2 separate regions of the Homo sapiens genome follow, and region 1 is linked to region 2. Evidence: promoter capture Hi-C in human tissues and cell types (Jung and others, 2019). All regions are on one chromosome and are shown on one strand. Each heading gives the region's core, a stretch centred on a gene start or on the middle of the fragment in contact. The rest is flanking DNA. Distances are from core to core; before and after follow the strand shown. Region 1 holds the start of CHERP (calcium homeostasis endoplasmic reticulum protein). Region 2 overlaps TMEM38A (transmembrane protein 38A).

The links. The method cuts DNA at HindIII sites, captures the fragments that hold promoters and counts their contacts. A contact is called where the count stands out against the background at its distance.
Region 1: the fragment with the promoter of CHERP here is called in contact with a fragment that was not itself captured in region 2 in 1 of the 25 tissues and cell types used here (spleen).

The regions. Positions count from the first base shown.
Region 1 is chr19:16,540,659-16,544,802 of GRCh38, forward strand. CHERP (calcium homeostasis endoplasmic reticulum protein) reads right to left here and starts at 1,779. Exons shown (of 17, transcript NM_006387.6): 1 at 1,696-1,779; 2 at 1,212-1,385. The coding sequence starts at 1,720. RefSeq lists silencers at 1,411-1,480, 1,491-1,680. The HindIII fragment of the contact is 9,580 bases long and covers 1-3,443 here.
Region 2 is chr19:16,675,333-16,679,675 of GRCh38, forward strand. All of the region lies in intron 1 of TMEM38A (transmembrane protein 38A), which reads left to right. Among named protein-coding and RNA genes, the nearest start is that of TMEM38A, 16 kb to the left of the region's middle. RefSeq lists an enhancer at 4,225-4,343. The HindIII fragment of the contact is 4,607 bases long and covers 1-4,343 here.

The DNA.
Region 1 (4,144 bases), core at 529-3,028, 140 kb before region 2:
CACTACGCCTGGCCTCCTTTCAAGCCTTTTCTTTTTCTTTCTTTCTTTTTTTTTTTTGAGATGGAGTCTTACTCTGTCACTCAGACTGCAGTGCAATGGCGTGGTCTTGGCTTACCGCAACCTCCACCTCCCGGGTTCAAGCGATTCTCCCGCCTCAGCCTCCCAAGTAGCTGGGACTACAGGCGCGGGCCACCACACCCGGCTAATTTTTGTATTTTTCGTAGAAACAGGGTTTCACTATGTTGGCCAGGCTGGTCTCAGACTCCTAACCTCAAGTGATCTGCCCGCCTTGGACTCCCAAAGTGCTGTGATTACAGTATGAGCCACTGCAACAGGCCTCCTTTCAAGCTGTTTAATCGAACACCAACTGTGTGTTATGTATTAAGGGACAATGACCTTGTACCTTAATACAAGACGAGCGTGTAGTCCCCTGAACTACACGCTCGCCGAAGCCAAACAGACCTTGTTTGGGTCATTGTACCTTAATACATAACACACAATTGGCGTTCGATCAAACAGCGGACAACCACCTCTCAATGTCCATCTACCTGGCAAACTCCTAGTTATTCATTTAAACAATCTAGAGACGGGGTTGGGTACTGAACGTGACAGATGTGATACCTGCCCTGAGCAGCCGCACCACCTGGTGACTATCCATTATTCAAAGGCCAGCTCTGCTTCCTAACTTTAAACTTCTTTAGAGCAGGACTGGAATCCTGTTGCCTAAATGAACGAACATTGATAAACACTTGCCAATAACTAAAACTCAGAGGGATAATTCTTTTTGATTTCTGCTGCAGGCATCTGAAATGCACAAAACCTTGCTGGACCCACAGGGAGACGGCAAAGGGGGCTGGACAGTGCCTGTCCCATGGACTCCCATCCGGCCTCTATCACTTCCTCCCTAGAAAACACTAAAACAATCACGCTACTCCTGCTAATCTCCGTCATCAGTCTGCAAAACAACAGCAAAATCCCTGATCCAGAGCCCAGGGGGGAGGATCGAAAACCTCGTTGTTCTCCATTACAGTGGCACCCAGCAGCCGCTCTGTGCAGGGCCGTGGGAACAGCGGAACAGGGATCGTGTGGACCGAGCTGCTCCACTTCAAAGAATAAACGACCCGAAAGAAAGAGGTTTGTGGCAGAGCCCGGACTGGAATCCGAGAAAGGAAGCGCTCGATGGGACGGCCTGAGTGCCGGAGGGGACTCACGCTGCTGCTGCTCCAGCGCCAGCTTGCACTTGTAGTAACTGTAGAATTCGCCTCCGAAAAGAAACGAGAATTTGGGGTTGTCCTTCTGCTTCTCCATAGTCATCTTCTCAAACTCGGGCCCATTGCGAGCCACGAACTGGGCGAGCTTGTCGATGACATTTCGAAGCTCCTGGTCTGGAGGACGGAGAAAAGGCCACGCGGGGCGTCAGCGAGGACCGCCCAAAGCCGGGGGACTCGGCGCCCCAGCCCCCGTCCGCCTTGCCGGGGACCCCAAGGGGGTGGGCCCCGAAGAGGCCGCCCTTGTACGGGTCCCGATAGGGGCCACACGCTCGCCGGGAATGCGGGGACCCACGGGAGAGGCCGCAGGCGAAGCCGCGAGGCCGAGCCCCGCCCCCTCCCAGACCCGGGGACTCCGGGAGGCGGGGCCGGCCAATAGGAGGTTCCGGGGAGAGAGAAACGGTCTCTCGGCCGGTTTGGGTCTCACCATCGGGGGGCAGCGGCATCTCCATGGCTCCGGCCGCGGGGAACGTCCTCCGGCGCCACACGATCGACCACCAGCGCCGTCTGCGGAAGCCGGCCGGAAGTGGCGCGAGGGAGCCGTTTACGGCGGGCTTCTAGGGCCGCTTCCGCCCGCCACTTACGGCCGTCGCTGGGAAACTCCGGAAGTGAGAGCGGGAGGCAGGCGGGAAGAAGCCGCGCGATGCCTGGCGCGCGGGAGGGGCTAGCGACGCGCACGCGCAGAAGTTTCCTGACACTTTCGCAGAGTGGGTCCCCGTCGCGCGGCGCCGCGGAAAGGCTGGAACGGCGCGGGTGGGTGTTAGTCGAGACCGGGGGGCGCGGGGCGTGCCCCTTGGTCGGCGTCGCAGCCCGATGGGCTGGCTGGTTGCTACCTCCGGGCGACCAGGGGCCTGGGGACTTCGTGCCTGGGCCAGGGTCTCTTTCCTTTCGCGGGCACAGTGAGGAGACTGCGAGGTGAGGTGCGTCCGGGTGGATCCCGGGCTGCGGCGACTGTCACATTCTCCCCGGCCAGACCGGAGGTGGAGCAGAACTGGGGGCGACGAGCTTGACTGGGATTGCAGCTGGACGTATTTAGGTTCAAAACATCCTCCTCCTGGCTTTCTTCCGCTCCACTCTTTGGTCAGGAAGACTGGGGCGGGGTACCCCCCAACCCATGCCCTCAAATTGCTGGCCTAGAGGGCACAGCGCCTTTCTAAAAGCTGCAGTTGGGTTGCCTCTAAAATAATGAAGCTAACCCTTGCTAATTGTGGGGAAAAGATAGCCAGAAGCAGCAAATTTCTGCTGTGGACGTCCGATATAAACTGATCCTCTTGAGATGGTTAATGCTTAGTTGGCTATACCTGCCCCCCGCCCCCGCCGCTTTTTTTTCCTTTATCCGTTTTTTTTTTTCTTTTTTCTTGAGACAAGGTCTTGCTCTGTGGCCCACGCTGGAGTGCAGTGTCATGATCATAGCTCACTAGCCCTGAACTCCTGTGCTCAAGTAATCCTCCCGCCTCGGCCTCCCAAAGTGCTAGGATTATAGGCATGAGCTACTTTACCCAGCCTGTTTTTTTCTGTGCAAATAAATGCACATGTATTTTAGATTAGTTTCATTTTTATTGTTAACAGCATTTTTCCACCAGATGCTTATGGATTGACAACTCTACATCAAGTGTTGCTGTAGGCTAGGAATCAACAAAACTTTTTGTATAAAAGGGACAGAAAGCAAATATTTTAGACTCTGCAGGTCAGGAGGCAAGATCAAGGATTTTTTTTTTTCTAAATGTCCTCTAGTTCATATTTTCTCATGAAGATCGAGGATCTTAATTGTTTGGTTTTTTTTTTTTTTTGAGACACAGTCTTGCTCTCTCTCGCCCAAGCTGGAGTGCAGTGGTGTGATCTCGGTTCACTGCAACCTCTGCCTCCCGTGCTCAAGCAATTCTCCTGCCTCAGCCTCCAGGGGAGCTGGGACTACAGGTGCGCACCACCACGCCCGGCTAATTTTTGCATTTTTAGTAGAGATGGGGTTTCACCAGGTTGGCCATGCTGGTCTTGAACTCCTGACCTCACATGATCTGCCTGCCTTGGCCTCCCAGACTGCTGGGATTACAGGTGTGAGCCACCCTACCCAGCCTTATTTAGGTATTTCTATAACCAGAAAGAAAAGTTCATAAAATTTTTGTTGGTGAAAATCAAAATATGATAACTGAGTAGTTTCTTAAATACAAGTTGCTACAGTTTGAATGTTTGTTCCTAATCCCCAGTGAAACAGTATTAAGAGGTGGAGCCTTTAAGAGGTGATTGGGTTATGAGGTCGTGCCATTCATGTGTTAATGGATAAATAGGTTATCATGGGAGTGGGACTGGTTTGGAGCTTGCAGTGAGCTGAGATTGCACCACTGCACTCCAGCCTGGGCGACAGAGTGAGACTCCATCTCAAAAAAAAAAAATAAATAAAATAAATAAAATAAAATAAAAAGAGGAAGAAAGGCCAGGCTCAGTGGCTCATGCCTGTAATTCCAGCACCTTGGGAGGCCAAGGCACGCAGATCACCTGAGGTCAGGAGTTCGAGACCAGCCTGGCCAACATGGAGAAATCCCATCTCTACTAAAAATACAAAAATTAGCCGGGCATGGTGGCGGATGCCTGTAATCCCATCTACTTGGGAGGCTGAGGCACGAGAATCACTTGGACCCAGAAGGCAAAGGTTGAGGTGGAGGTTACAGTGAGCCAAAGTCGTGCCACTGCACTCCAGCCTGGGCAACAGAGCAGGACTCCGTTTCAAAAAAAAAAGGAAGAGAGACCTGAGCTTGCACACAGCCTGCTAGCCATGTGATGCCCTGTGCTACCTCAAGACTCTGCAGAGTCCCCACCAGCAAGAAGGCCCTTGATTTTGGATATCTCAGCCTCCAGAACTGTAAGAAATAAATTTCTCT
Region 2 (4,343 bases), core at 1,053-3,552:
AAGTGGTCCTCCCACCTCAGAAGTAGCTGGGAATACAGACACCTGCCATCACGCCCAGCTAATTTTTATTGTTGTTGTTGTTTTAGAGATGAGATTTCACTATGTTCCCAGGGCTGGTCTGGAACTCCTAGGCTCAAGAGATCCTCTGGCCTCAGCCTCCCAAAGTGCTGGGATTACAGGTGTGAGTCACCACGCCTGGCCTCTCTTGACTATTTTTTTTTTTTTTTTTTTTTAGAGACAGAGTCTCACTCTGTCGCCCAGGCTGGAGTGCAATGGTGCAATCTCAGCTCACTGCAACCTCTGCCTCCCGGGTTGAAGCGATTCTCCTACCTCTGCCTCCCTAGTAGCTGGGACTACAGGCGCCTCCCGCAACGCCCAGCTAATTTTTGTATTTCTAGTAGAGACAGGGTTTCACCATATTGGCCAGGCTGGTCTCGAACTCCTGACCTTGTCATCTGCCCGCCTCAGCCTCCCAAAGTGCTGGGATGACAGGCGTGAGCCACCATTTATAAAGGCTCTAACCCCGTTCGTGAGGGGTCTACCCTGGTGACATAATCACCTCCCAAAGGCCCGACCTCCTAATGCTATCACAAGCGGGGAGGGGTAGGATTTCAACATACGAATTTTGGAGAGACAGAAACATTCTGTCCACAACAGACACTCTTTCTCTTCCCTGCTAAAAATAGACAAAACTGATTATTTCTTTTGCTTAGTCTTTTGATTTGACTAATAAGAGATCACATTTTGGCCGGGCGCGGTGGCTCACACCTGTAATCCCAGCACTTTGTGAGGCCGAGGCAGGCGGATCACGAGGTCAGGAGATTGAGACCATCTTGGCTAACACAGTGAAACCCCGTCTCTACTAAAATTACAAAAAATTGGGCGTGCTGGCGGGTGCCTGTAGTCCCAGCTACTAGGGAGGCTGAGGCAGGAGAATGGCATGAACCTGTGAGGCGGAGCTTGCAGTGATCTGAGATTGCGCCACTGCACTCCAGCCTGCGGGACAGAGCGAGACTCCATCTCAAACAAAAAAAGAGAGAGATTACATTTTGTGACCTTGTTATCTCATGTCAATACTGACTGTAGTTTTCATTTCATTAGAATAAGTTGTATTAGGGGAATCGTTGGTTTTGGCTCTGGTCATGTAATGTACAGAGTAGCTGTACCTTACAACTTGATCATAAAGTTGTTCTCTGCAAAACGAAACTAGTTGGGAAAGACAGAATCAATATGATGAAAGAAGTGGTCATACCAGGAGACACAAGTTCTAACTCCAAGGTGTGGCCTTAGAAGATTACGAAGATACAACATAAGGATAGAACTATTTATAAAGATTATAAAGGCTTTACATGAGTAATACAAGATGCAAGGATTTAGTGAATAGACATTAATACTGTACCCCGAGTGTTGCATTTTCATGACCTTTTTTTTTTTTTTTTTTTTTGAGAGGTAGTCTCGCTGTTGTTGGCCTGGGCTGGAGGGCAATGGCACGATCTCAGCTCACTGCAACCTCTGCCTCCTAGGTTCCAGCAATTCTCTTGACTCAGCCTCCCGAGTAGCTGAGATTAAAGGCGCCCACCACCACGCCTGGCTAATTTTTGTATTTTTAGTAGAGATGAGGTTTCACCATGTTGGCCAGGCTGGTCTTGAACTCCTGACCTCAGGTGATCCACCCACCTCGCCCTCCCAAAGTGCTGGGATTACAGGCATGAGCCACCGTGCCCAGCCCTTTTTTTAAAAAGAAAAAAAAAAAAAAAGCCCAGCTATAGGACCTAAGGACTCAGCAATGGGGTTTTCAAGCCCCCTTCTTTTTAATATGGAATTTTAAAATACTTCTTATCTTGGAAGAGTTTATGACTCACAAGAAGTTGCAAAAATGGTACAGAGAATTTGCAAATACCCTTTACCCAGCTTCCTCCAATGACATCTTATGTAATGATAGTGCATTATTAAAACCAGGAAATTGGCATGGGTACACTATCATTAACTCAACTACAGACTTTATATATTTATTATTTTTGAGACAGAGTCTCATTCTGTCACCCAGGCTGGAGTGCAGTGGTGCACTCATGGCTTACTGCAGCCTCAAACTCTTGGGTTCAAGTGATCCTCCCAACTCAACCTCTTGAGTAGCTGGGACTACAGGTGCATGCCACCATGCCCAGCTAATTAGAAAAAATTTTTTGTAGAGATGGGGTCTCACTGTGTTGCCCAGGCTGGCCTCCCCTCCCCTTCCCTCCCTTCCCCTCCCCTCTCAACAGGGTCTTGCTCTGGAGTGCAGTGGCATGCTCATGACTCACTGCAGCCTCCACCTCACCAGCTCAAGTGATCTTCCTACCTCAGCTTCCCGAGTAGCTGGGACTACAGAAGCATGCCACCACGCCCAGCTAATTTTTAAAATTTTTTGCAGAGGTGGGGTCTCACTATGTTGCCCATGTTGGTCTCGAACACCCAGGCTCAAGTGATCTACGTGGCTCAGCCTCCCAGAGTGTTGGGATTACAAGTGTGAGCCACCGTGCCCAGCCCGGAAATAAAAGCTTAATACATGCTACAATGGGGATGAAGCTTGAGGACATTATGCTCAATAAGCCACACAAAACAACAAAGTTTGTATGGTTTCGCTTACATGAGATTCCTAAAGTCATCAATTTCATAGAGACAGAAAGTAGAATGGTGCCAGGGGCTAGGCGATGGGGGATGAGGAGTGAGTGTTTAATAGGTTTCAGTTTGGGAAGATGAAAGAGTTTTGGAGATGGTTGGTGGTGATTATGGCAAAACAATGTGAATATAATGCCATAGAACCACACACTTGGCCAGCCACTTGGCAGTGGCTCATGCCTGTAATCCCAGCACTTTGGGAGGCCAAGGTGGGCAGATCACAAGGTCAAGAGATTGAGACTATCCTGGCCAACATGGTGAACCCCCATCTCCACTAAAAATACAAAAATTAGTTGGGCGTGGTGGCGCATGCCTGTAATCCCAGCTACTCGGGTGGCTGAGGCAGGAGAATCACTTGAACCCGGGAGGAGGAGGTTGCAGTGAGCCGAGATCGCGCCACCGCGCTCCAGCCTGGTGACAGAGTGAGACTCTGTCTCAAAAAAAAAAAAAAAAAAAAAGAGCTATACACTTAAAAATGTTTAAAATGGGCTGGGCATGGTGTCTCACGTCTATAATCCCAACTCTTTGGGAAGCTGAGCCAGGTGGATGGCTTGAGCCCAGGAGTTTGAGACCAGCCTGGGCAACATGGCGAAACCCCGTGCCTACTTTAAATATACAAAAAATTAGCCTGGCATGGTGGCGCGCGTGCCTGTAGTCCCAAATACTTTCGAGGCTGAGGTGGGAGGAGTGTTTGAGCCCAGGAAGTCAAGGCTGCAGTGAGTCGTGATTGCACCACTGCGCTCCAGGCTGGGTGATGGGAGTGAAACCCTGTGTCCAAAAAAAAAAAAAAAAAAAAAAAGTAAAGTGATAAATTTAATGTATATTTTACAAAAAAAAATTCTTTTTAAGACAGCAGGTGTAAGAATACCAGCATAAGGCTGGGCACGGTGACTCATGCCTGTAATCCCAGCACTTTGGGAGGCTGAGGTGGGAGGTTCACTTGAGTCCAAGAGTTGGAGACCAGCTTGGCCAACATGGTGAAACCCCTTCTCTACTGAAAATACAAAAATTAGCCAGGCATGGTGGTGGCTGCCTGTGATCCCAGCTACTCGGGAGTCTGAGGCAGGAGGATCGCTTGAACCTGGGAGGCAGAATTTGCAATGAGCTGAGATTGCACCATTGCACTCCAGCCTGGGTGACAGAGTGACACTCTGTTTGAAACAAACAAAAAAAGTTAAAAAAAAAAAAAAAAAAGAATACCAGCATAAGCTCATAGGGATCTTGGGATCAGCTGAGGTCAGAATAGCAATTTCTTTTGTTTCGTGTGTGTGTGTGTGTGTGTGTGTGTGTGTGTGTGTGTGTGTGTGTATGTGTGTGTTTTAGATGGAGTCTTGCTCTGTTGCCCAGGCTGGAGTGCAGTGCAGTGGTGCAATCTCAGCTCACTGCAGCCTCCACCTCCTGAGTTCAAGTGATTCTCCTGTCAGCCTCCTGAGTAGCTGGGATTACAGGCATGCACTACCGTTCCCGGCTAATTTTTGTATTTTTAGGGACGGGGTTTCACCATGTTAGCCAGGCTGGTCTTGAACTCCTGACCTCAAGTGATTTGTCCACCTTGGACTCCCAAAGTGCTGGGATTACAGGTGTGAGCCACCATGCCCGGCCCAGAGTAGCAATTTCAAAGTACTCCCAGGTACAAGCTGGCCCGTCTCACCAAGCCTCAGTCTCCTCTTGACAATGAGACTCCT